Regions from separate parts of the Homo sapiens genome. Here regions 1, 2, 3 and 4 are each linked to region 5. Evidence: promoter capture Hi-C in 16 types of primary human blood cells and fetal thymus (Javierre and others, 2016). All regions are on one chromosome and are shown on one strand. The core of a region is centred on a gene start or on the middle of the fragment in contact, and the rest is flanking DNA. Distances in the headings are between cores, read along the strand shown. Region 1 has its middle 140 kb from the start of LINC01972. Region 2 has its middle 140 kb from the start of XXYLT1-AS1. Region 3 has its middle 160 kb from the start of LINC01972. Region 4 overlaps XXYLT1 (xyloside xylosyltransferase 1). Region 5 holds the start of XXYLT1-AS1 (XXYLT1 antisense RNA 1).

What was found. Contacts are between HindIII fragments. The CHiCAGO score rates a contact against its expected background, and 5 or more counts as called.
Region 1: a fragment that was not itself captured here is called in contact with the fragment with the promoter of XXYLT1-AS1 in region 5 in 1 of 17 cell types (monocytes); the score reaches 5.2 in monocytes.
Region 2: a fragment that was not itself captured here is called in contact with the fragment with the promoter of XXYLT1-AS1 in region 5 in 1 of 17 cell types (neutrophils); the score reaches 6.8 in neutrophils.
Region 3: a contact is called between a fragment that was not itself captured here and the fragment with the promoter of XXYLT1-AS1 in region 5, in 1 of 17 cell types (endothelial precursors). The highest score is 6.8, in endothelial precursors.
Region 4: a contact is called between a fragment that was not itself captured here and the fragment with the promoter of XXYLT1-AS1 in region 5, in 1 of 17 cell types (megakaryocytes). The highest score is 5.5, in megakaryocytes.

Annotation. Positions count from the first base shown.
Region 1 is chr3:194,906,122-194,911,461 of GRCh38, forward strand. No RefSeq gene overlaps it. Among named protein-coding and RNA genes, the nearest start is that of LINC01972, 140 kb to the left of the region's middle. The HindIII fragment of the contact is 5,087 bases long and covers 523-5,340 here.
Region 2 is chr3:194,948,542-194,953,868 of GRCh38, forward strand. No RefSeq gene overlaps it. Among named protein-coding and RNA genes, the nearest start is that of XXYLT1-AS1, 140 kb to the right of the region's middle. The HindIII fragment of the contact is 5,514 bases long and covers 1-4,872 here.
Region 3 is chr3:194,928,150-194,933,975 of GRCh38, forward strand. No RefSeq gene overlaps it. Among named protein-coding and RNA genes, the nearest start is that of LINC01972, 160 kb to the left of the region's middle. The HindIII fragment of the contact is 2,158 bases long and covers 3,082-5,239 here.
Region 4 is chr3:195,235,838-195,241,484 of GRCh38, forward strand. All of the region lies in intron 1 of XXYLT1 (xyloside xylosyltransferase 1), which reads right to left. Among named protein-coding and RNA genes, the nearest start is that of XXYLT1, 32 kb to the right of the region's middle. RefSeq lists an enhancer at 4,205-4,767. The HindIII fragment of the contact is 1,233 bases long and covers 3,167-4,399 here.
Region 5 is chr3:195,091,336-195,096,840 of GRCh38, forward strand. It overlaps XXYLT1-AS1 (XXYLT1 antisense RNA 1), which reads left to right and starts at 3,253. Exons shown (of 4, transcript NR_104188.1): 1 at 3,253-3,343; 2 at 3,950-4,042; 3 at 4,264-4,372; 4 at 4,585-4,722. The region is part of intron 3 of XXYLT1 (xyloside xylosyltransferase 1); the gene reads right to left. RefSeq lists enhancers at 2,694-2,763, 2,884-3,053, 3,124-3,173, 3,638-4,837. The HindIII fragment of the contact is 5,440 bases long and covers 1-5,421 here.

The DNA of each region.
Region 1 (5,340 bases), core at 1,816-4,315, 190 kb before region 5:
GAATTGAGAAAATAGAAAAAAAGTATTATAATTCTTTTTTGAGAATCAAAGATCAACAATTAACATAGAAATATTCCTGGTCAAAGGCATCTGCTGATGTCATGTCAAAAGCAAGAGCAAGAAACATTGACACACGAAGTTCAAGGCTAAGGTCAAAATTTCCTGGAACAGGGACAGGAGCACACAGAAGAGAAGTGGCCACAATCTCACTGGCCAGTCTTGCCTGTAGCTACCGTCTTGTCATCAACGTGTGTTCCTGGATTTTCTGCTGCAAACAGTGAGTCACTCCTCCAAATACAATAACTATTACTGTGTTTATATTATAGTAAACATTATGCAAATTCTATGAATGGTATTCAGAGAAAGAACAAGTTTTGGAAACAAAGAAAGTCTTTGAATTGGCAATTCCCACAGATGATTCTGAGAGGCCCTGTTAACCTTGCGAGGAAATCAGATGTTACATTAGTCAATACTACCCAGTGAGGTTCACTGGTGATTTCCAGCATTTGAATATTTCCAGGAAGCTTTAGTTTTTTACACCTACTACCAAAGTGTAAATGCTTTATAAATATTACCAAATACAAATATTTTACAAAGGCTACCAAACTTAATATTTCTTCTTATTTGTTAAATAAAAATTTTTAGATATCCATAGTAATGAAGAAAGAGCATGAAGAATGTTGGAGAATCTTTTTTAAATAACTTATAATTTTGGTAATTCTGGAGAATTCCCAGAAATTCCTATTTTTTTATGCCAAAATCCCAAAGATCAATGTCTGTCAAGAATTTGGAAATAGCTCCTGGCATCTTAGGCCTTTAAGACTGTTCATTGAAGGAAAGAATAAAGGAAGGGACAGGATCCACAGCACTGCGGTATTTCTCGCATGGAAATAGAAGAGAAGGAAAGAGCTAGATACTCTTTGTCTAGATACTAATAAGGTGACTAAACCTATGGCTGTGGGTAGAAAGTGTAGTTGTTTCCATGAAAGGCCTCTGTCTTCTAATGATACAAAATTAGGGTCATTCATTGAGAGGAAGGCAGGAAGTGGCTGGCAGACAGGGCTCCTAAGAGACTTACAAAGGTTTGAAATTACCCCGAGGGAGGATGAGAGTTGCCGTGGAATGCCTGGGAGGTCTTGTGGGTACCAGAGTTCTTAGCTGAAGTCTAAGCACTCACTACAGTAGAGAAAGGAAGCACGCGACAGGCTCCCAGTGCCACAGAACCTTATGGATTTTCTGAGTAGGCCCGGGGTACCCACATCCACACACAAGCACAGCCACACACACGCTCTCATAAACCGCATCTGGAACAGTGTGTGGGTGTCACTAACAAACTGCTATCCAATGTCCACACAGCCCATGGTGTGAGCTATCATGAAAGGGTGAAGTCAGTGTGACCCAGGATGGTCTGCCAGGAAAAAATCCACTGCAAACAGTAGGTGAGGAGAGGAAGACACACTCTAGCAAAAGTGGCATATTGGGCCGGGTGCAGTGGCTCACGCCTATAATCCCAGCACTTTGGGAGGCTGAGGCAGGTGGATCATGAGGGTCAGGAGTTCGAGGCCAGCCTGGCCAACATGGTGAAACCCCGTCTCTACTAAAAATACAAAAATTATCTGGGCATGGTGGTTCATGCCTGTAGTTCCAGCTACTTGGGAGGCTGAGGCAGGAGAGTCGCTTGAACCTGGGAAGTGGAGGTTGCAGTGAGCTGAGATCGCGCCATTGCACTCCAGCCTGGGTAACAGAACGAGACTCTGTCTCAAAAAAAAAAAAAAGTGGTATCTTGGAGCAACTGGATCTCGTGTCAAGAATGATTGTGTTTGAAACTCCTTGACTCACCCTGCATTTCACCCCTTCCCTACAAAACCATGACTACCAGCTCTAGGAGGAACCCAAATTTGGCTCTTCTCAAAAACTAAGAGTCAGGTGGCCTGGTTTCCAGCCTCAGCTATATCACTAGTTTAGTGAGTGACCCTGGGCTTCTCTGAGGTCCAGCGTGATCTTCTGGTTAGTGGGGCATTTCTCTAGGCATGTTTGTGCTCTGTTAGCTTTCTGCCTCAAGAAACAGAGACTTACATATAGTTCTGCACCTGGAAGGACATTCAGAGTCCAAGGTGCCCTTTGTGGGTTCAGTGTACACCTGTGGCAGCTGCAGGGGCTTGCTGTCCTTAGCTCTAGTACTCATGTTACTATAGATGGAGCTAGGTTCCTTCTGTGTGTGTGTGTGTGTGTGTGTGTGTGTGTGTGCATGTGCGTGCACTTCTCCTTGGATGCCTGCTTGCTTCTGTCTCTCATGGACCATTCAGAGAGAGAGAGATAATCTGATTGGCTTGGAAACATCCATCTTTCTGGTTTGGGCTTAACCTTTTCGGCTAAGCCATCTCATAGAACAGTTGCCCAGCCTACAGCTCAGCTGCCTTCGGGTCAGGTGCCCACCACAACTCTCTCAGCTGTGTCCAGAAGGGATTGGCCATGTGACAGAATGTGGCAACTGTGAGCTCAGGACTCCCCCAGCTGCTCCCTTTTGGGGGCTGTAAGACACCAGGCATCCTGCTCCCCAGAGCTCCCTCCAGCTCTGGCACTTATGGAGGTTAACCTATCCCAACCCCATGCTCCACCTCCTAATAACATTTGATTGTATGCCAGCTGGTGCCGGACTCTGAGCTGGCGGGCGTATGTTACACTCTATACTTCTCTCAGTGGCTCTCCAAGTTAGATGGGCCCGTCTTTACAGAAACAGAAACTAAGGCCCAGTAAGTTAAAGTCACTCAGATAATAAGGGGTGGAACCAGGAGTAGAACATAGGTCTATGTAATGCTAGGACTTATTTTCTTTCTATTGTTACCCTTATGTTTCCTTGCAAAATCTTTATAATCAATTTCTCCCTTAGACCCTGCATCTCAAAGAACAGTAATGTATTCAAGAGAAGAACAACCATGGCAGGAATCTGACAATAATCATCCATATCTACTCCCTTCTCCAAGCAGAAGTGCAAGGGTTCGCAGGCCAGCCCTGCCTTCCAGGCCGCTGACAACATCCAGAGCTGGCTACACAGCACGGCCCCCTCCAGGCCCAGCAGAGGCGGCAGAGAGACATCCCGGAAATAAATTAAAACAGACTGATTATCCTCTCTGGGTGTAGCTTAAACCATATCAGAAAAATTGCCTAGAAATAAAATTGGATAGCAGCCCTGACAAACCAGTGCAAGTAATTATATCAACTTGATGGCAATAATTATTTTTCATAAAACTCAGTTACTTCCCACCTCCAATAAATCTACCGTAGGATAATTCTGTAATATGTTTTCACTGTACATAAAACCAGGAGTCGTCACCAAGTGTGCCGTGAATATGCATTGAGTTTCATACCTTCTCCAAAGACCTTGAACTGTCTGTGGATCCTGCAGCTCATTGACAAACACCCGGGCCTCACAGATGCCAGGACAGCTCTTTGGGTAGGGCCTGGGGGTTGTGCCATGGCCTGGTGTCAACCTTGCAGCACTTCTGAGTTTTGCTAAGAAACAGTCTTCACGGTGTTAGGGAGGACACTCTGACAAGATGGTGGCGGGGAGGAGAATGGAGAACATTAGGGGATTTGGATCCATTAAGCACCCTCCTTCCATTTCTCCTGTTTCTCCTCCTGTTCTACGGTCATAGACACACAGCAGTAGTTCCCTCTTTTAAGAGAGCGTTGGCTGGGTTCGGAATGCGGTGCACTAGTCCCAGCCTTGCCAGTCAACCTGCTGTGGCCTTGCTAACCCTCATCGCTTCTTTGGACATCTGGTTTCTCATCTGTAAAGATACAGATAATGCCACTTTACTTCATTTATTTATTTTCTTTTTTTTAAAAAAAAATATGAGATGGAGTCTTGCTCTGTCACCCAGGCTGGAGTGAGGTGGTATGACCCAGCTCACTGCAGCCTCGAACCCTTGGACTCAGGGAATCCTCCCACCTCAGCCTCTTGAGTAGTGGGGTTACAGGCCCACATCTCCATGCCTAGCTGCTTTTTTTTTTAATTAAAGACTTTATTTGAAGAAAATTTAGGTTCATAGCTGTATCAGTCTGTGCTCGCATTGCTATAAAGAAATCCCTGAGACTGGGTGCTTTATAAAGAAAAGAGGTCTAACTGGCTCATGGTTCGACAGGCTGTACCGGAAGCATAGAGGCTTTTGCCTGGCTTCCGGGGAGGCTCTGGGAAATTTTAGATTGTGGAGAAAGGCGAAGGGGAAGCAGAACTGTCTTGAACGTTTTATACGGCTGGAGCCGGAGCAAGAGAGAGAGGCTGGGAGGTGCTGCACACTTTTAAACAACCAGGTCTCATGAGAACTGTATCATGAGAATAGTACCAGGGACAGGGTGCTAAACCATTCATGAGAAACCACCCCAATGATCCAATCACCTCTCACCAGGCCCCATCTCCAACACTGGGGATTACAATTCAACCTGAGATTTGGGTGGGGACACAGATAAACCATATCAACAGCAAAACAGCAGGAGGCACAGAGATTTCCCATATATCTGCTGCCCCCACACTTATATCGCTCCCCCATTGTCAACATCCTCCACCGAATGGTATAGTTGTTACAGTCGGTGAACCTACATTGCCACGTCATCACCCAAAGCTCATAGTTTACATTAGGGCTCCCTTTTGGTGTTGTACATTCTATGGGCTTGGACAAGTGTATGATGATATGTAAACACCATACGGTGCTTTCACTTCCCTAAAAATCCTCTGTGTTCCAACTATTTCACCCATCTGTCCATTGTGTGTTGCTATAGCAAAATATCCGAGACTGAGTGATTTATAAAGAACAGGAATTTATTTCTCACAGTCTGGAGGCTGAGACGTCCAAGAGCAAGGTACTGGCAGGTTCAGTTGTCTGTGACAGTTGCTCTCTGCTTCCAGGATGGCGTCTTGTTGCTGCATCCTATGGAGCGGGGAATGCTGTGTCCTCACATGGCAGGAGGCAGAAGGACAAGAGAGCCAAATGCTGTGAAGCCTCTTTATAAGGGCCTTAATCCAATTCATGAGGGCAGGAGCCCTCATACCTAATTGCTCTTACAGACCTCACTTCTTAATACCATCACACTGGCCATTAAGTTTCAACATCTGAATTTTTAAGGGGACACATTCAAACCATAGTATCATCTCCCCCCAAACTAATTCATTTGGTTCTGTGGATCTTCCTTAAGTACCTCTTCTGTGCCAGGCACTGTGTTCAGTGTCTCCAGCAGTACTTGAGACTGTCCTCGACTTCCTGATGCTGACAGTCAAGGGGGGAATACAAGCCAACATTGAATTATAGGTGTACTGGTTATGATGATGGAGAAACAGGAGAT
Region 2 (5,327 bases), core at 866-3,365, 140 kb before region 5:
TTCACAAGAAGAAATGAAACAGAATGGAGAGAATCAGAAATTCGGGACACGCAGCAATGGGGAAAAAAAATGACCTCTTCTAGAAAACTCTTTCCTCTTTGGGCCTTATTTTTCTACCTCCCCAGATAAAATTAATCTCGTATTAGTGGAGATCTGCTAACTGTTGTAACAATCCCCTGTGTTTAGTACAATGAAAGTTTCTCTCTCAGACACTGTTCAGTGTCTGAATTTTAAAAGGTTTTGAACAAAGAAGACCCAATGAATCTTTCTTCTCACTAAACACAGTGAATCACCTCTGAGGCAAACATCAACTCATGGATTGTACCTTTCTACCCAAGTCTGATAGCCTCAACATAGCCATCATTATGTTAAGAAAGAATGGCATGAGGAAGCAAACAGAAAGAAGGCAGCATTGAGAATTATGACTCGGAAAAAAAATAGGGGTATAATTAATAGCATGTTATTCAATCTGACTGGTATCCTTATAAGAAGAGGAAATTTGGCACACAGAGTGGCTCAATGAACTTGTACACAGAGGCAGCCATCTACAGGCCAAGGAGGGGGATCTCAGAAGAAACCAAAGCAGGTTGGACACGGTGGCTCACACCTGTAATCCCAGCACCTTGGGAGGCTGAGTTGGGCAGATCACCTGAGGTCAGGAGTTCGAGACCAGCCTGGCCAACATGGAGAAACCCCACCTCTACTAAAAATACAAAAATTAGCTGGGTGTGGTGGCAGATGCCTGTATTCCCAGCTACTCGGGAGGCTGAGACAGGAGAATCACTTGAACCTGGGAGGCGGAGGTTGCAGTGAGCTGAGATTGCGCCATTGCACTCCAGCCTGGGCAACCAGAGCGAAACTCTGTCTCAAAAACAAAAACAATAACAAAAAAGAAACCAAACCTGCTGAGACATTGATCTTGGACTTCCAGCCTCCAGAGCTGTGAGAATTGATGGGACACAAATAGATTAGAAGCCTCCTAAGTTGTTGAGAGAACTGTGTTGCCAACGAAGCCAGGAGACTGGGTTTAAAGGGTTTTGAACATCCCAACAACCCAAAGTTCCTAAATTTGGAGCTAGATACAGGGACTGGATGGGACTTTGCTTATCCTCCCCTGGGAGGAAAGCCAATGACAGGCTGTGGCAGAGACTGCTAAGGAAGGCTCCTACCCTGGGTTCATCCTGCTACCACGTGCATCCGTTTTCTAGGGCTGCCACAACAAAACACCACAGACTGCGTCCCTTAAACAACAGGCATTTATTTCCTCACAGCTCTGGAAGCTGGAAGTCCAAGATCAAGGTGTCAGCAGGTTTGGTTTCTTCTGAGACCCCCCTCCTTGGCTTGTAGATGACTACCTTCTGTGTGCAAGTCCATTGAGCCACTCTGTGTGCCAAATTTCCTCTTCTTATAAGGACACCAATAAGATTGGATAAGGGCCCACCCTAACAGCCTCATTCTAACTTAACTGCCTCTTCAAATGGCTCTGCTCTCTATGCAGCCACATTCTGAGGTACTGAGGGTTAGGATTTTTAACATGTGAATTGAAGGGGACAAAATTCAGCCTTCACATCTAGGTAGGCCACATACTCCACTTCCAGCCTGGACGCTTTCAAACCACCCGTGACACCTGTCACGGTTGCTGCTTCCCTGCCTGTCACGCTGCTGCAGAAAATCCAGGAGGAGGCTCCGAGGCTCTGGAAGACAGGGAGACCACGCCAGGGAAGGAGACTGGGTCCTGAGTGGGTGTGCACAGCAGCACCCTCCCGCAACCTGTCCTGGACAGGGTCTGAGGCAGCAGCGTGCACTGAATGAAGCCCCTGAGACTTCAGGGTTGAATGTCACGGCAGTTGGCAAGTCCCCACTGACACAGACAGGTTTATTTTGGGCGTCTTCACCAGGACTCAGCCAGGCCTGCCGTGTGTCAGGGCAGAGAACCACGCATGTCGGCACCTGGCTTGCATTTTAATAAAAGTTATGATTGGAGTTGTATGGGCTTAAGAAAAAACATTCAAACACTGAGTGAGAAAATCTGGCACGCACCTTCCCTAATGACATTCTCCAAGTAACAATTTTAAAAAAAGGTAGAGGCCACGCACGGCGGCTCACACCTGTAATCCCAGCACTTTGGGAGGCCAAGGCGGGCAGATCACGAAGTCAAGAGATCGAAACCATCCTGGCCAACACAGTGAAACCCTGTCTTTACTAAAAATACAAAAATTAGCCAGGTGTGGTGGCGGGTGCCTGTAGTCCCAGCTACTCGGGAGGCTGAGGCAGGAGAATCACTTAAACCGGGGAGGCAGAGGTTGCAGTGAGCCGAGATCATGCCACTGCACTCCAGCCTGGGCAACAAGAGCGAAACTCCATCTAAAAAAAAAAAAAAAAGAAAAGGAAAGAAAAGAAAAAAGAAAGGAAAAGAAAAAGAAACGAAAGAACAGCAGCCTTCCTTCCTGCTAGCTGTGAAGGAATGGCTCTGAGTCTCTACGTTGTTCCCAGTTCCAGAGAGGCACCCTCGTGTGTCAAGAGAAAAATATCTAAAAATCTTAAAAGATCATTTTTGAGATTGTGAAATGCGTGTGTGATGGTGAGTTCCTCGCGTCTGCAGAAGTCTGCTGCCACTTGATTGACTTGGCTTCCAAGGCTGGTTCTGTGGAGAGCCGTCCCACCCAGGTGCTCAGCCTGGAGTTGAGATCCACCCCAGGGTTCTGGATGCAGGGGTCAAGAGTCCACCTCCCTCAAACAATTCTAGTCAAGTGTGCTTTCCAGAAACGGAAATCTTTACTATTTTAGCACAAATAGAAAAATAAACACGCATTGCACACGTTTGCCTCCCCACCCCCTGCAGAAATAAACACCCCACTAGAGGACATAATCCGGAGCAAGGCTGCGGGAGACATCCAGGCTTTGACGCTGGCCTGGTGCCTCATAGAGGCAGCGTCGCACGGCGGTTAGTCACCTGGGCTTTGGCATTAGGCCGTCAGGTCCAGAAACTCTGCTGACCACTGGGCAGCTGCCTGTGGCTTGGGGAAGTTATTTCAGTTCTCTGAGCATCAGATTCTCCATCTATAGATAGATGTGGTGATAATAATAACATCACTTCCCGCAAAGGGTTGTATGTGATGAAACAAAATCATGCATAGAAAACACTTAGCAGGCCGGGCGCGGTGGCTCACGCCTGAATCCCAGCACTGTGGGAGGCCGAGGCGGGTGGACCACAAGGTCAGGAGATCGAGATCATCCTGGCCAACATTACTAAAAATGCAAAAATTAGCTGGGCGTGGTGGCACTTACCTGTAATCCCAGCTACCTGGGAGGCTGAGGCAGGAGAATTGCTTGAACCCAGGAGGCAGAGGTTGCAGTGAGACAAGATCACACCACTGCACTCCAGCCTGGGTGACAGAGCAAGACTCTGTCAAAAACAAAAAAGAAAGAGAGAAAGAGAGAAGGAAGGAAGGGAGGGAGGGAGGGAGTGAGGAAGGAAGGAAGGAAGGAAGGAAAGAGAGAAAGAGAGAAGGAAGGAATAAAGGAAGGAAAGAAAGAGAAAGAAGGAAGGAAGGAAGGAAAGAAAGAAGGAAGGGAGGAAAGTAAAGAAAGAAAGGAAGGAAGAAAGAAGGAAAGAAAGAAAGAAAGAAAGAAAGAAAGAAAAGAGAAAACAGCAGAGCCCGTAGTGAACACTCAATCAAGATGAGCCATTATTACCTCCTCCTGCTAAATTCGACTTTCCTTCCTCACTTCAAGAACTTCCAACTCTCCCTATTGCTTCAGTTGCTGGTGAGCTGTTTGCGGGACCCCTGTGTCCCCTGGGTGTCCTCTGGGTTCTCCTGCCTGTGTTCCTCTCGCTGCTGCCCAGACACCAACCCCAACTGTCCTGCTGAGAGCAGGGTGGAGTGCTGCTGTGTGCGTTCCACCTGGACACCAACCAGTTTCCATTCTGTGAAATTTCCTCTTCTTCCTTGGCTTTCATTTCCACCCACTGAAAACATTTGTGAGTTATTTTCTTTGTTTAACAAACATTGAGTATGCATGTAATACAGTTTCGCATTTCTAGCCTAATTATTATTCTAAATCATCACTTAACTTTCATATGTAATGTTTACTGATTTTATAGCAACTGTATATATAATTAATCAGTGTACTTTGGATTACTAGTTTTTGATACTAGTTTTTGATACGCGCTGTATTTGTTAGTCCTTGGAAATCTTGATGAACAAGCTATTATGCTTACATAATACGATAATGACATGGAAATAGGTTCGCTGCAAACATAGGGAAAAGCTGTCCAAGAAGCCCTTGGCTCTTCTATCTTGGCTCTGGGGGCTCTTGGCCTGGATCCTGTCACCTGTAGACACTGGAATAAGCGTGTTATCCAGCAGACCTCAGTGAGCTTTGGGGGAAGACCCAGAAAGCCCTAGCTGCGTGAGACGGCCCAGCCTTTCCCTTTCTCTGGCACTTGCTCGGCCTCTCCTGGCAAAACATCCCAGCCTGGATTCAGCCACCATCCAGATGCTGAGCCCCACCCCAGACCCTCTAAAGAGGAGGGCTCTATGCAAGTTGGCCTGTGGTATTTGCTGAAGGGAAGCAGATCCTGTCTGCTTTGTTATCAGCAACCCCAGATGACCCCAGCTCTCATGTGTGTGATTGAGAAACGCTTCCTGCTCGTACAGAAGCCACACAGGGGTTGGTGGGAGTGTGCAGCCTCCAGGTGAGTGTGTGTGTAAGTGGAGTGTCAGGTGGAGTCTCTTCAGCCTCTCTCTCTCTTTCTTTCTCTCTCTCTCCTCTCTCTCAAAGATTGTTTGACTTGGATTTTCACGACACTATCACACACAATGTCCCAAATGATTCTCAGAACAGCCCAGAGAGCTGCACAAGGGAAGAAGCTTGTGAATCTCACACCAGATGTGCCAGAGGCCGGAGGCTGCACTCTGCCTCTCATCCCATGGGAAGGGACAGGCACCCAGGAGCACTGTCCTGCCTCCTCTTCCTCCAGCCCACGCTTCGAAGAGCTATGACCTTGTCCTTAAGGGCTTTACAGGACCTCGTGGCTCCCTAAAGCCTGAGGCCCAAGTCCCTCACTTTTATGTGCTTTGATGGTCTTGCCACCTTCTTTGTTTGTTTGTTCATTTGTTCATTCATTCATTGAAAGAACATTTCCTGAGTTTTCTGGAAGAAGATGGGACACATTGGAAGAATAGATGTCTGGGAATGCTCAGACCAGATCAGTGTGGATAGTGACTGGGGAGTTGGAGGGTTGCAAAGAAGTCTGAGGCAAGGAGCCCAGTTAGAAGGGTGTATTAGTCAGGGTTCTTTTGAGGGACAGAACTAATAGGATA
Region 3 (5,826 bases), core at 2,911-5,410, 160 kb before region 5:
CATTTGGATGTGGAGTCAGAGAACAAAAGGAACTTAGACCTCCCTAAGTGTAGATTCCCCAACCCAATCAGTTAATGAGAAAGACTGAGGGGGAGCCTTGGTTCTTCCCTTCTTCAGCCCACAACAAGTCCCTTCAGACTGAGAGAGCACAAGAATTCTCAGATAAACAAGGTGGAATATCTCAAGAGGGACCAACTTCCTGTGAGTTTGGCTGTGGGGGTGGTTAAAGTGATTAGTCTGAACATTACAAACAGATGTAGTCATATGTGTCTTCCAAGCTAGTAAAGCAAGTTTTGTGTTGCAAGGGGTCAAAGGCATTTTCAAAGTCAAAGAAATGTTATCGGTCTATTCCTCATCTGCAAATCATACACCCCACACTGAAGGAGATATGTTCAAATTCTCACTGCCCACTTGTCCCTGCCTACTCAGTCTCTCCACACTCCTTCTTCCTCCCAAGTGGAGAGGCAGCAGCAAGTGCTGATGGGGAGTCAGGGAATGAGGCAGGGGGATGAGTCTCAAAGGACCTTTGTTACTGTAGGTAGTCAGACATGAGCAGGGCAGGAAAGGGCCCCCCACCCCCGACCAGGAATGTCAGGCGACCATCAGGTGATTGTTAACTGTCTCTTTAAAATATTAATAATAATTGGTCGCAGCCAGCACTAGGGAAAGGCAGTCTTCCAATCGATAGAAACATCTGAAACTGGCGATCAGCAGCTTCCCAGTGAGATCGCAGGGGCTTGGTAACTGAGCTCAAGCATGCGCACTAAGAGGAACAATGGCAGAGTTTAACTGGTATATGACCTTCCTCTAGGAATGCTGGACTGGGAAGGGAAAAACGCCTCGAGTGAGCATGCGCACGACCTCAGTAAACACTGCGCATGCGGCCTTCCCAAGTGCTGGCAAGCCACTATGTTTGTGGGCAGCCCACCCCAAGGGAAGCATCAGGGGAGATGGGTTGCGACCACCCGGAAGTGTGCCAACATATAAAACCCCGAGTCAAAGGTCAAACTGTGCACTTGATCTCTCAAGTCACCCTCCTGGACCTCTTCCAAGTGTACTGTACTTCCTTTCATTCCTGCCCCAAAGCTTTTGAATGCACTTTCACTTCTGCTCTAAAACTTGCCTTGGTCTCTCATTCTGTCTTATGTCCCTTAGTCAAATTTTTTCTTCCAGGGAGGCAAGAATTGAGGTTGCTGCAGGCCAGTACAGAGTCGCTGCTGCGAAGATACTTTGGTGCCGTGTGACTCAGATCCATCCCCTAGCGGTCACACCGTGAACTTTTCGGATCCATCCCCTAGCGGTCACGCCGTGAACTTTTCGGATCCATCCCCTAGCGGTCACACCGTGAACTTTGCTTTAGTCACGTGGCTTCTCCCTTCCGCCGCCATTATTCCCACTCAACGAAGTAATAGTCGGGCTCAAACACCACACGGAAGGCTTTGGCTCTAAAAAAATTTTTGTTCTGGCTTCACATAAGGCTGAACTCTTTTTTTCTAAAGTGATCCAAGAGTAAGGATTATGTTTCTCTGAACCTACTGGATTTTGTATGAAGTCTCTGAGCCAGGACACACATTTTAAGTGAAATCACACAATCTCAAAGTATGTTTGTACAGCCCAATTTCATCTGGAAAAGCCAATACTGCTACACAAGGATTTTTTTTTAAATTCCAAAGCAGTGAAGTAGTTGGAGCTCAGTAGCCCAGAGATGTGAATTATGCTCTCAACTTCATTATTTTAATGTTTAATTTGAGCATTTTTTTTTCTTTTGAGACAGAGTCTCACTCTGTCACCCAGGTCTTCATGTCCCAGGCCCAAACAATCCTCCCATCTCAGCCTGAGGAGTAGCTGGGACTATGACCGTGTGCCACCACACCCAGATAATTTTTTTTTTTTTTTTTTTTTTTGTAGAGACAGGGCCTCACTGTGTTGCCCAAGCTGGTCTTGAACTCCTGGGCTCAAGTGATCCTCTCATCTCAGCCTTTCAAAGTGCTGGAAATACATGTGTGAGCCAGTGCGCCCAGCCTCAAGCATCTTCATTATGATATGTATAAATATGTATCTATTTCAGCAAAGAAGAGAACTCATCCAACAGACCATACCAGACAAAGCAAAAATTGTGTAATTTTACTTTTGGCAACATCTCTATTGCATTGACTGGAGAGGGTTTGGCACTTCCCATGGAAAGGATGGCAATTTAAAGTAAAATATTATTGAAAACTTTATCCACTTGTGTTGGAGCCAAGTAGCAAAAGAGACACTAGAGTTTCTCCTGTCCTGCTGCTAACATCATGGTCTCAAGTCCAGGCACAGTATCTAGAAATACGTTTCGACATCCTGCCTGACGTCTTCCTGTAGCATGGCTGGCACCATAATTGCAGAAGAACATCCAGAGGCAGGTCCCTTTACTAACAGCCGTGCCTGCATTTCAACAGCCACTGGACTGCACCTGTGGAGAGAATCACTGCAGCCAAAATCTCTTTGTGGTAGACAAAAGCACCAAGAGCTTGTTGTGTTGAAATCAGGAAGGCACACTAGGGTGAGTAAGAATAATTTGCAGACAGACCAACCACTAACTCTATAGCCTCTTTCTAGAGGAGGTGAAAAATGCTTCCATTAAAATCCTGTATTTCACATTCTCTAAATATTTGAGCTTCCTGACAGGCATTCTTCTCGGAGTTGGGGAGGAAGCTTGACTCAGCTCAGCTTTGTAGGCCCATGAAGTCTTGAGGCACACACCAATGACAGGATACACTTGTGCAGCGTCCCAGGGTCAGGAGAGCTGGAGCAGGTCCAGCTCCTCCACAGCTTGGGGCATGGTGGGCAGGCAGCAGAGAGGAAAACAGTGGGAAAAGCTGGACAAGGACTAATTGAAAGCCAAGGTCGTTACTCTGATTCAATCATTCCTTCCTGGAAAGAGAGCGGTTTTGTGCTTAACCTCGTGGCCTAAGGTTTCCAGGATATTGCTGGCTCCTGGATCTCTCTGGGGCCAGCTTATTTACCAGGCTTCTAGGCCCAGGGACAGAAGGATGTCAGAGGAAATTACTCAAATGGGACACAAAGAGAAACCAAAGGCAAAGAAAAAGCTTTTAAAAATGCTGCTCACAGATCCTTCCAGTAGAAATTGCAATCAGTTAAACAGATGCCACATTTTTACTGCCCACTACAGCTTTAAAGTGTATTTCATGGAGTTTCAGACTATTTAAATTTTTTTCCAAAAAGAGTGTCATTTGGAGAATGTCCAAAGGGAGAAAAGCAAATTGATAACTTCTAAAAAACTCACTTTAACCTTTTACAAGCCCGTCTCTGAATATGCCCAAATGTATGCAAGATCTTCCTTAAAGTTTTCCAGAGTGAGAGGACAAAGTGCCTGTCTACCAGGACAGCCTTCCCAGTTTCCTCCTACACAGTGTTGGCTGGAGCACGTCAAAGCAGACCGTGTTTTAACTTAGTGCTTTGCCATTCCTTGGCATGTGGTCAGTGACCTGAGAAGCAGAGTCCACACAGATGCAAGTGAGGATGCCAGGAATGGGGAGCGTGACCTGGAGGACCTCTGTGATGAACTGAATAAAACCAAGGTGAGCAGGGTCCCAGAGCAAGACAGTGGTGTCTAATGGACGTCTTTCTAAAGAAAAGACCCGATGAATCTCTGAAGATCTCCCTTGGGGACAATGAGGCAGATTTGTACCTTAACCCCAGAGGGCCAAAGTAGGAACAAAAGGGAAACAGGATTTAGTTCCATACAAGGAAGAACATTTTAGCTGGATGCCCCAGGGAGCAGTGAACCCCCTGACCTTGGCCTACCTCTAGTGTACCCCAGGTGACTGCTGCCGGGAAATCTGTGGAAGGGACTCTTGTGTAGACAGCAGAACCAGCCTAGAGTGTCTGCAGTAAGTATTGACTCAGAGAAAGGCAGGGCAGTAAAGGCATATTTCCCCAAGGAAGGAGGCCTTCTGGTATCAGCATTTCCAGTTCCCAGCAAAGGCATATTCTGAAAAGGTCATTGCACATAAGCACTGGAACTTCTGAGGGTAGGGCCTTAACGGATTCATTTTTGTGCTCCTCTGTAGTAAAGGAATGGATGAGGAAGTGAGTGAATGGAAACTGATCTGCTCTCAAGGAGGGTGATAGGACACTATGTACCCCCAGCCTGGGGGACAGGCAGAGGAACAGCGCAGGAAGGCTAGGAAAGTATGTTGGGGCAAGATTATGAAGACCCTTAAGAGGTAGATGGAAGAATTTGCATTTAATATGGCAAAATAAGCCTCAGCCTATGCCCCTGCCTAAATGTAGGAAACGGTCAGCTCACACTCCCAAATCTCCCGAGCTCACAGCTCCAATATCCTCTTGCTCACACCTCAAGTCTCCCCCACCTCACACTCTAAATCACCCAAGGGCACACTCCAAATATCCCCTCGCTGAGGATGGTTGTAAAGTATTCCATGGGGTCTTTTCAAGACTTAATCCTTTCTGGAACCAAGTGATCAACATCCTTGTCTACCCAATCTCTCCAAGACTGTGGCAGAGACGGCTAACATTATCAAAGACTGATGTTTCTTTGCCAACCCGTCTTTCAGTGAGTCAGGGTAGTCTAACTCCTGTGATAAAAACTTCAAAATTTCAGTGGCCTAACACAATAGACATTTATTTCCCATCATGGCAGAGTCCAAGGCAGACATTTCTGGGCAGCCTTCTGTGATTGGCTTTGTCTGTCTTGAATTCTTCCCTCTGCTAGGACCTCAGAGTCCTCTCATTCAGCTGGTGAATCACAAAAGAGGCCACAGAAAAGGCACACTTCTTAATCATCACAACATATTAGTGAAAGACAGCAGTTCTATTATTATCTTATTCGTGAAAACTAGTCTTTCACCTAGCTGCAAGGGAGGCTGGGAAAAACAGTCCCTAACAGAGAAACTAAAGCTGCTTTGTAGCCACAGCTCTACATTCCAGAAGATTCTTTAAAGTTCTACCTGAACCTTAAAGAATCACTAAATATGAAGTGTGGGCTGGCAGGGGGTTGCAGACTCTGAGACTGCAGACACAAGAGGGGCTCTCACATACAGACTTCTCCAGAAACCTCCACCCCATGCTCTCAAGAAAGATTGGACAGGAGAGAGAACAGGAGAAAGCCACCCTGAGAGGTGCAGTCCTGCAGATAGGAGCACTGATGCTGCAGGCAAAAGCATAAAGCCTTGTCCAGGATCTTCTCCCCTGAGGCCTTAAGCCAGTAGGGAAAGGGCAAAGCTTGCTGTCCCAAGAACACTCACTGTAAGTAGGAGAAGGAGTAAAGATGAAAACTTCAACCTCTGAGGAGGGGCAGAGACCACCCTGGCTGGATCCAGCTGATTAGAGGTCTTCTGTTGGGTGGGTGGTGGGGAGGGGGCAGAAAACTCTCTTGGGCACAAGAACAGCCTGAAATACACGGCAGTTTGGCCGCCACAGGGAAGAGGGGCAGGATTACTGAGAAAGCTCCAACCTCCAAATCAAGAGACACACAAGGCCTGCCTAAGACTGAAGTTGAATCAGGACAACGGGACACACCCCTGTCCTTGTCACCATCCTGTTGGTCAGGCTGAGGCACTGAACAACAAGCAAAATCTCCTGTTGGCCTGTTTTCCTGCAGAACCAGAAACGATCGGGAATGCTGAATTCTCTGGGTCATAGAATTTCAAGCCTCAAAGGCAGTGTGTGAGTAAGGGACCCTAAAGAGCTCCCCCTGTCTATTTGAATTTCAGGCCCGCAGACATCATCGGTGCTGTGAAGAGGGGAGCTGGGAGGAGGGTGTTGACATGAACACATCAAACTTTAGCACATCAAACGAAGAGGTCA
Region 4 (5,647 bases), core at 2,533-5,032, 150 kb after region 5:
GTTCTCTTCCCTATCTCCCAGATGAATGCAATCTCTCTATATATCTATAAATATATAGACATAGACATAGACATAGACATAGACATAGACATAGACATAGACATAGACATAGACATAGAGATATACACCTGGCTGGGCTGCCTGGAGATTGGGGAGGGGTGACACCCCTGTCACTATCACCACTGGGACTGCACTTGGTCAGATCTGAAGCCAGCACACCACTGAGTTTTGCCCGAGGCCTGCTATAACCACTAGCTGACTACTCTCTATGTTCAATCAAGGCCCTAGGGCCCTACAATTAGCAGGTGGCAAAGACTGCCAGGCTTGTGTCCTTCCCTTAAGGGCAGTGAGTTCTCTTGGGCCCCAGGCAGGTCCAGAGATGCTATCTGTGAGCCAGGGCCTGCAATCGGAAGCCCTAGAAATCTGCCTGGTGCTCTATTCTACTGCGGTTAAGCTGGCAACAAAACCACAAGATAAAGTCCTTCCCACTCTTCCCTCCTCTTTCTCCAGGCAGAGGACTCTCTCCCTGTGTCCAGTACCACCACAGGCCCATGGGGAGTGCTGCCAGAGCGCCACCAATGTTCACTTAATGCCCAAGGACTCTTTAGTCAGCTTGTGGTGAATGCTGCCAGTCCTGGGACTCTCTTCAGGGCAGTGAGCTCCCCTCTGGCCTGGGGTAGGTCCAGAAATGCTATCCCAGAGCCAAGGCCTGGAACTGGGGACCCCAAGGGCCCAGTTGGTGCTCCCCCTATGTCTGAGCTGGTATCTAAGCTGCGAGACACAGTCCCCTTTATTCTTCCCTCTCCTTTACTCAAGCAGAAGGAGTCTCTCCTCGTTAACCACCACAGCTGTGAATGTGCTGGATCCCATCTGAAGCCAGCAGGTCTCAGAGTCTCACCCAAGGCCCATGGTATGTACTACCTGGTTACCACTGCTGATTATTCAGGGTCCAGGGGCTCTTTCGTCAGCAGGTGATGATTCCTGCCATTACTGGGTCCTTCCCTTCAGGGCAGTAGGCTCCCTTCTGGCCCAGGGTGTCTAGAAATGTCATCTAAGATCTAGGGCATGGAATGGGGGCCTCATGACTCTGCCTGGTGCCTTATCCTACCGTGACTGAGCTGGTACCCAAGTTGCATGACAAAGTCCTCTTTACTCTCCTCTCCTCTAACAGAAGGAGGGGGTCTCTTTTGGAGCTGTGAGCTGCGCTGCCTGGGTTTGGGGGATAGGGGATGCAAGTGCTCCCTGAGCCACCCTGGCTGGTGTCTCATTAGGTCATGTAACCCCCAAGTCCACTGGCTCTGAGCCCAGCACAGCACTAGGACTCACCTGGGTGTTGCAGTCCTTGTGGCCTGGTTTATTTAGAACCCAGAACACTTTAACCTATGGTAACAAGGCTTGCTGGAACTCAAGTTCTGACTGCTGAGATGGGTGATTCTCCTCTGTCTAGGCTGGTCTAAATGCTCCCTCCGTGGGCATCGGCTGAGTTCTACCCACTGCTGGCAGCAATGAGTTCCAATGCAAAGTCCCACAACTGCTGCACTCTCCTTTCCCCGTCACACAGGTTCTCTCTGAGCACCATGTGGCCACCGCCACAGGGATGGAGTCAGTGATCAAGACTGTCTTTCCTACCCTCTGCAGTGCTTCTTTCGGTAATATGAAGTTAAAACCAGGTACTGTGATCGCTCACCTGATTTTTAGTGCCCACGAAGGTGCTTTTTTGGTGTAGATCGTTGTCAAATTTGGTGTTCTTGTGAGGAGGATGGTTGGTGGAGGCTTCTGTTTGGCCACCTTGCTCCACCTCCAGCCTAACCATAAAAACCTTTTATGCCACATTGGTCCTCCTCATTCCCTAAAACTTGTTTTATGTAACACTTTAAATCTTCTGCCTCATTATAAAAGCCTTTTTAAAAATGTCTTCATGCTTCTCTTCTAAGGTACCGTTTCCTTTATCCTTTTCTGGCTACTGGTTTGTTTGTTGTTTGTTTGTTTTTAATACTTTTTTCCAGACACAGAATCCAGACCAGTTCCTGCTATTTTCCAACAGAAATCTCAAATTATGTTTCTCATTCCCACACCCCTCCGCTTCCTCTCACCCCTGCCCCTGCGACCTCTCTGACAGGTTTCCCTACCTCCTACCTTCCCCACTGCCCCATTCTGTTATACCTCCAGAATTGTTTTCCAAATAGAGAAATTCGTTTTTCTCTCTCCCTGGCTTCAAGACCTCCGACGACTCGTCGCTCCCTTAGTTACAGTCCGAATCCTCTAGCAAGGCCTCTAAGCCGCTGCAATAGTGGTTCTGGCCCCGTCCCCCGACCTCCCCGCCTCGTGTGACTGGGCAGCACTGAACCAGGCAGTCTCCCGTCTACTGGCCACACCTGGATGACCTACATCCTTGCATGCCTGTACTTGCTCTTCCCACCGTCTGTAATTACCTCTCCCAGCCCCCATCTGCCTGGTAAGATCCTATCCAGTTTTCCAATCCTCCCCTCCAGCCTTCCCACAGCCTCCCACAATTCACCAGGCCCTTCCTAACACCCTGCATCGCATGGGGGCTCCACTCACCCTGTCTGACTCACTTTTCAGGGCTCTGTTTCTCTATCGGCTGCATGGGGCACTCCTCGTAGGCAGAGGCCGTGACTGCTCTGTGCCCTGTATCCAGCCACTGGCCACATGACAGGCCACCCATACATCCATACAGGTTTGCTAAACTAAGTGAACTGCACTTTGGGCAAGTAACTAAACCTCTCTGAGCCCCAGTTTCTTCGTGGGTAATACAGGACTGTCACCACATGCTTCCTGTGGTGTCTGTCAGGGCCATGTGGAACACACATTGAGCCCGGGGGTTGCCACACTGTGCTTACTCCTAAGTGTTAGCACCAAACCTCCTCCCAGTCCCCGAAATGCCTTCTCCCCACAGATCAGTTTTCACTCCTAAGCCAGCTTTTCCCTCCCTCCAAATCATCCCTATCCGTTCGAATTACACAGGAAGCTGGAAGCTGACAAGAGGGTTCTCGCAGAAGGGAAGGCCTCTGTGTTCACTAAGCAGGAAGAGAAAGAACGGATCTGCGCAGGCATACACGCAGAGCAGGGCTGCTGCAGCCAAACTAAGGGAGATGAAGAGCTATCCTCAGCCAGCTCACTCCCTACTGGCCCCATCTCACCCCAAAGCTTCACAGGAGACAACTGCATCCCATCAGCATGAATAGACTTCTGAGGACAAACTGTACTCAGTACATTGTTCCAGACGCTGTGCTGCCAAGCCTGCACCCATGAATATTTCATATAATAAATCTGCTTAAAGATAAATGAGTATGCTTCATGGAATAGACTTTATGCAGCAAGAGGCAAATCACAGACCCTGCAAGTGTGAATCAAAATACCCAGGCCTCCCAAAGACTAAAACAGGTTTGCAAACTAACCTTCCCAAGGATGGGCTGGCACCTGTCATACTCTGGGGTCCTTTGCCCAGACCAGGGGCTGATGCCTGGCAGTGCGGCAGGGGGCAGCAAAGCAAGAGTGAAGAGAGGAAATGAGAGGGATGGGGGAGAGAAAAGGCCACCCCTTCGACCTCCCCTCCTCCCTTTCAAGTCCCCCACCTCGAGAGCTGCAAGAAGAACATACAACCTGGGAAACCAGGAATATAAGATGACTTCCATACTGAAGGCAATTAGCCAATGAGAAGACACAAAACAATAGTTAATGCCAACCTGGAATATATGATTTTTAGGAATGTAGACAAAAAAGTCTGATCACGATTTGTAGGTTTTATTAATTTGTTTACATACACATACTTAAAAATCCTGTTGACTATAAAATACTATTTCCCACACCCAGCTTACAAAATAATTTCTCTTCAAACCCTTCGTGTGCATCAACAGCAATGCCTTTATGAAGCCCAGAGTCAAGCTGAGCCACCCAGAGCACGTCCTCCTCACCAGCTGTTTAGGATGTGTTGGATACGGTTCCCTGTGAATTTATGTAGAATGTTGGCATCAGAAATGTCACCCCAACCCACAAGAACCCATGTTCGTATCATGAGGGCAGTTGGGTGTTGTTTTTAATCACCTAATGACATTTCTCAAAGTAGGGTTCTTCACCGGCCTATAATCATATATTTGTAGCCATTCACTAACCTTCAGGAATATCCCACCCCAGGAATATCCTGCCCCAGAAATGATTAAATCTGTGTTAAATTTCTCTGCCTACTTTTATTTTTAATTACTTCTGCATCTAAATTCAGTAATGACTGAGCTTTCTTTTCAGGCAAAGGTGTCCTCAAACAGTACTTTGTTGTTCAAACTAAAATATGTAACCGAGAAAGTGCTGTGTGATATAAAAGACCTTGGAAAGGCTCAACTCTTTCGAAAGGGACAGTGTAGGGAGGAGGGGAAAGAGGTGAAGCTTGCCTCATATTCTACCATGCACAGCAAACTCAACACTTGTGATGCAGGGAGGCTGAAGCATCCATCAGTCATGGCAGAGCCTGGTGCCAGGCAGAAGCAGGCGTCTTTGCCACCCAGCCCTGTGCTCGCTGGCACTGAGATGCCTGAGAGCCAGGCCACCGCTCCTCTAAACACTCCCTGGGGACATAAACTCAGGCCAAGCCTTTAGCTCCATTTGGTGGAGAAAACTAATTTTATCACTTGGCCGGCCCCACTGGGAGTCAGGTCGCAGCCACACTCCTGAGCCAAGAAGGCACGTGGCAAGGGCTGGCCCCACGCACGGAAAGATGCCAGGTTTCCCGGAAATCCCAAGGCCTGTTTGAAGAACAGCCACTCCTCTGGCCACAGACAGCAACGCCACAGGTCGGCCGGAGGCCAAGGGTTCACCCATCTCCTCCCCATGCGCCGCCAGAGACCATCCCCCAGCACAGCTATTGGAGGGAAGGTGGTGGCACAAAGCTCAGGCACACTCTACCCAAGTCCAGCAATCCTGGTGCCCCTGCCAATGCTGAATCCACCTCCTGAAGGAACCATAAACTGGGGGACTGAGGCAGGAGGATCGCTTGAACCTGGGAGGCGGAGGTTGCAGTGAGCTGAGATTGTGCCACTGCACTCCTGCCTGGGCAACAGAGCAAGACTCCATCTCAAATAAAAAAAAGAGTCACTAAAACGCTCCAAACCTATAGGTAGATCAAACACAATTCTGAACGGAAGAGGTCTTAATGTATCAGAAAAGTCACTAAGTAAAGACATCTGCCTCCCAATTGGAAATGGCCTCTCCCACTCTCCCACTCTCAGGCCTCGTCAAGCCTGGCAGAACACCAAGGCCGACCTGAAGAAGCAGGGCGGGTCTTTCAGGACCGACACCTACTTGGCACATTCCCAAGGAGGAGCTGTTCACACCTTCTTGAAGCAAGGGCAGGTGCCCTGTGATGTCTGGTATCCATACACTTGGAGGACAAGCAAACAAAATGACAGGCTCTGAGGCTGGTGGTTGGGGACACAATAGACCCCACTATGGGCCCCACAGGATTTAAATTAGGGCACAGCTATTCTGTGTCCTGATTTTCATGTCTGAAATTGTATCAAACGTGTTTCCTTAAAGGAAGTTTTCCTGGAGCAACAGACAGATGATTGAGTGATGGATGGGCAGAGCTACACTACCTATTGATCTCTCCCCAAGGCTTGTCAGCAATTCCAACAAG
Region 5 (5,505 bases), core at 2,003-4,502:
AGTGGGCTTCATCCCTGGGATGCAAGGCTGGTTCAATATACGCAAATCAATAAATGTAATCCAGCAGGTAAACAGAGCCAAAGACAAAAACCACATGATTATCTCAATAGATGCAGAAAAAGCCTTTGACAAAATTCAACAACCCTTCATGCTAAAAACTCTCAATAAATTAGGTATTGATGGGATGTATTTCAAAATAATAAGAGCTATCTATGACAAACCCACAGCCAATATCATACTGAATGGGCAAAAACTGGAAGCATTCCCTTTGAAAACTGGCACAAGACAGGGATGCCCTCTCTCACCACTCCTATTCAACATAGTGTTGGAAGTTCTGGCCAGGGCAATTAGGCAGGAGAAGGAAATAAAGGGTATTCAATTAGGAAAAGAGGAAGTCAAATTGTCCCTGTTTGCAGACGACATGATTGTATATCTAGAAAACCCCATTGTCTCAGCCCAAAATCTCCTTAAGCTGATAAGCAACTTCAGCAAAGTCTCAGGATACAAAATCAATGTACAAAAATCACAAGCATTCTTATACACCAACAACAGACAAACAGAGAGCCAAATCATGAGTGAACTCCCATTCACAATTGCTTCAAAGAGAATAAAATACCTAGGAATCCAACTTACAAGGGATGTGAAGGACCTCTTCAAGGAGAACTACAAACCTCTGCTCAAGGAAATAAAAGAGGATACAAACAAATGGAAGAACATGCCATGCTCATGGGTAGGAAGAATCAATATCGTGAAAATGGCCATACTGCCCAAGGTAATTTACAGATTCAATGCCATCCCCATCAAGCTACCAATGACTTTCTTCACAGAATTGGAAAAAACTACTTTAAAGTTCATCTGGAACCAAAAAAGAGCCCGCATCGCCAAGTCAATCCTAAGCCAAAAGAACAAAGCTGGAGGCATCACACTACCTGACTTCAAACTATATTACAAGGCTACAGTAACCAAAACAGCATGGTACTGGTACCAAAACAGAGATATAGGCCAACGGAACAGAACAGAGCCCTCAGAAATAACGCCGCATGTCTACAACTATCTGATCTTTGACAAACCTGACAAAAACAAGTAATGGGGAACGGATTCCCTATTTAATAAATGGTGCTGGGAAAACTGGCTAGCCATATGTAGAAAGCTGAAACTGGATCCCTTCCTTACACCTTATACAAAAATCAATTCAAGATGGATTAAAGACTTAAACGTTAGACCTAAAACCATAAAAACCCTAGAAGAAAACCTAGGCATTACCATTCAGGACATAGGCATGGGCAAGGACTTCATGTCTAAAACACCAAAAGCAATGGCAACAAAAGACAAAATTGACAAATGGGATCTAATTAAACTAAAGAGCTTCTGCACAGCAAAAGAAACTACCATCAGAGTGAACAGGCAACCTACAGAATGGGAGAAAATTTTCGCAACCAACTCATCCGACAGAGGGCTAATATCCAGAATCTACAATGAACTCAAACAAATTTACAAGAAAAAAACAAACAACCCCATCAAAAAGTGGGCGAAGGACATGAACAGATACTTCTCAAAAGAAGACATTTATGCAGCCAAAAACCACATGAAAAAATGCTCATCATCACTGGCCATCAGAGAAATGCAAATCAAAACCACAGTGAGATACCATCTCACACCAGTTAGAATGGCAATCATTAAAAAGTCAGGAAACAACAGGTGCTGGAGAGGATGTGGAGAAATAGGAACACTTTTACACTGTTGGTGGGACTGTAAACTAGTTCAACCATTGTGGAAGTCAGTGTGGCGATTCCTCAGGGATCTAGAACTGGAAATACCATTTGACCCAGCCATCCCATTACTGGGTATATACCCAAAGGACTATAAATCATGCTGCTATAAAGACACATGCACACGTATGTTTATTGTGGCATTATTCACAATAGCAAAGACTTGGAACCAACCCAAATGTCCAACAATGATAGACTGGATTAAGAAAATGTGGCACATATACACCATGGAATACTATGCAGCCATAAAAAATGATGAGTTACTGTCCTTTGTAGGGACATGGATGAAATTGGAAATCATCATTCTCAGTAAACTATCGCAAGTACAAAAAACCAAACACCGCATATTCTCACTCATAGGTGGGAATTGAACAGTGAGATCACATGGACACAGGAAGGGGAATATCACACTCTGGGGACTGTTGTGGGGTGGTGGGAGGGGGGAGGGATAGCATTGGGGGATATACCTAATGCTAGATGACGAGTTAGTGGGTGCAGCGCACCAGCATGGCACATGTATACATATGTAACTAACCTGCACAATGTGCACATGTACCCTAGAACTTAAAGTATAATAAAAAAATAAAAATAAATAAATAAATAAATAAATAAAATTAGATGCTACTTCAAGCCATTACCTGGGGAAAGTAATTAGACTCCTCCGAAAATAACAGCAGTTCTGCTGCCACTCCTGGAGCCTTTCTTCTGGAATTATCTGGCCGTCCTCCCGCTGCCCTTCTCCCCACAGCTGTTCAGGGTGCAGAACTGCCCACTGGGGAAAAGGTGCCCTGACTCCAAGCGCATCCAAACTAATTAGGAGCCTATCCTCCCCCAGCCCACGTCCGTGGAGGCGCCATACCCCCAAGGCCTGGTGCAGTCAAGGGGAGAGTGTCAGCTGCTCCCCTCGGGGACAGTGGCAGCTCCTCCTCCTCCTCCTCCTCTTCCTCCTCCCTGTGTGGAATTTCGTGGGCTGGCTTGCTGGGGAGGCCATGAAACATGAAATTCACAGCACTGGCCTCTCCTGTTCCTAGGTCTCAGACTGAGGGAAAAGCATAAAGAAACGCTGGCTGTGGACGCACCTTGGAAGGAGGCAAAGGAGAAAAGAAAGCAAGCACCCGACACAGCCCAGCGAGGCCCCAAGGAGGCCCCACGCCCCACTGCCTGTCTGCACTCTGCTGAAACCCACATCCACGCCCCCAGGCCAGCTGGCATCTTCCACGCTTCCCTGCTCTCTTGGGGCCTCCTCCCTCACGCCCTCAGTGTCACCTCGCCCTTTGCCCAAGACCAACAGACACCTGCCCACACGCATGCAGGCCCAGAGTGGCCCGACCAGGCTTCCTCGCCCCTTGTTCTGTCCAGACACAAAGCTGACATGGGAGTCCGGTCGGCAGACTCATCCCCACACCCTGTACAAAGCTGGACACCCGCGGAGACCTCCGGAAGCCAAGATCTAAGCGCTTCGATCCCACATTCACAAGCCCCCTCAGCGGGGATTCCCAGACGCACGCTTCTCCTGAGAGAGTCCAGCCCCTCCTGGCGGCCGTGGTCCCTGGATGCGGGTGCTCGAGGCCTGTGTGGGTAATCACGCTTCCCGTCTCCACGCCACCCTTCCCCCACAGAGTCGCCTGCCCTTCCACACAGACAAGGGGCCACAAGGCCGCACCTTCCCCTCTCCACACAGCCTGCGAAGGCATCGCAGATGCCATTCTGATTAGCAAATGCTGCCTCTGCTCCACCACGCACCTGTTCTGTGGCTCAGCTCTGCCACTGGCCCTCCAGAAGGTTTTCTCAGCTAACCCCACTGGCCTCCACCTCCCCTCCCAGGGTTCTCTCACATAAGAGTTACTAGATGCAGGGCAGTGCTTCCCAGACCTTACTGTGCGGGGGAAATGTGTGTCCGGGATCTGGTTAAAATGCAGACTGGGATTCCGCATCGCTGACAAGCCCCCAGGTGATACCAACGCTACTGGTCTGCAGGCCACACTTTTGAGTAGTGAGAAGGTGGAGGTAAGAGTGAGGACTCTGAGTCAGGGAAAGTGTGTTCTGGCCCCAGCTCCACCAGAACTAAGCATTACATCTCATGAGACTGCCGTGAGGGCTGCATGAGGTAATGCAGTGTCTGGCTGTCGCGGGAACGCAGCGTGCACTCGCAAATGCAAATTCTCTTCCTCTTGCTCCAGTCTTCTCCCTGTGGCGGTGGTGAGTGTAATGCCTCAGAAGACTCTGCCAGGGCATTAAACAAAGTCATACGCGAACCCCCCGGTGCACGGCAGGTGGGTGATGTGGGTTCTCCTTCCTTGCCTTCCACCATCTGGGACTGGGGCCAGCACAGAACCTGTGCCCCATATGGTCAGGGAAGGCAGGGGGACAGCTCCTAGAGCTGAGCCTTGCAGATGGGCACTCTTACAGCCGGGCCTCCACATCCAGTTTGAGTGCTCATGTGTGGTGTTGGGGAAAGGGGTCGTTCAGGTCACACTGGTGGGCAATTCTTCAGGGGACTTTGTCACCTGTGTGCTTATGCGTGAGCAACAGCGCCTGATGACTCTTGGGAAGAGCCACAACAAAGCGAGGGCCTGCAGGCGGCAGTGGCCAGGGAACCCTAGGTAAGGCCCTAACACGTGCGGTCCCCTGATCTGCGGGTGGGGCAGCCTTCACTGGAGGGGGAGTGAGTCTCAGTGAATCAGAGTGGGTACATGTGGAGCTGCAGGTCAGCAGCTCAACAGGGATGAGTAAGGTGCTTTCAGAGGCCACGTTAACCACATCTGGCTGGGAAGGAACCAGTTAGCAAACCTCTCTTTCCCTGCCCTGTTTCCAGCCCACAGGAACTCAAGCAGCTTCAGAGAAGGTCTTACTTGTTTCCGGGGAGAGGCCAGAGGCTCCGGGAACCCAATTCAATATGTAATATATAGCAGTGTCCACGCTATGGTCTAAGCAAAGGCAAGAGGAGAAATAAGGTTGATGGATGGCTCCATCCTTAGCACGCGTTTATGGACACCCACCCAGCCTTCTCCCAGCCGCCACGGCTCTCCACACACAGACAAAAGCAAAGCCCTTTGACCTTAAGCAGAAAAGTACACTGTCTCAACATACTTTTATAGAGTACCTGCTAAGCCTGGGGCCACCTAGGGGAGATTGGAGGGTCCCTCTAGCATGGCTGCAGCCCATGCACAGCAGGAGGATCTGTGTGGCCAGACGGGGAGGCTGGTGACAGTGGCGCAGACACAGCACTCAGAGGCCTCCAGGTGCGGAGAAACAACATGTGACGCAGACACCATGCTCTGTTCCCAGTGCGTCCCCAACACACACACGTATATATACACGACCATGCCCATGTGCACTTACATAATACACATGCACATACGCACACGTGTACGTAACAGACGCACATGCTGACAAACACACACGATACACACACACACACGCATACATTTCCTCGGCCTTCGGGAAAATGGAGTTCAACCTCCCATCTGAAGTTGAACTCGTTTCTTCAGAAGTGAGTCTGAGTCTTCATTTCTCAGGCACAGATGTGCAAGGAAACCATTCCTTCTCCTCCTCAGGCCTTCTCAGTGCCCTGGTAATATTTACACAGTTATTTAACAAGCAAGGCTGAGCTTTCCTTTCAACTGGCAATTAAAATCAGAACATAGAGACAAGCTTTGTAAAGCTTGGTTTCCATAGAGGATAATTTTCTTCCATGGGTTTAAAAAAATGAGAATCTTGACTGAAACTGTAGGTA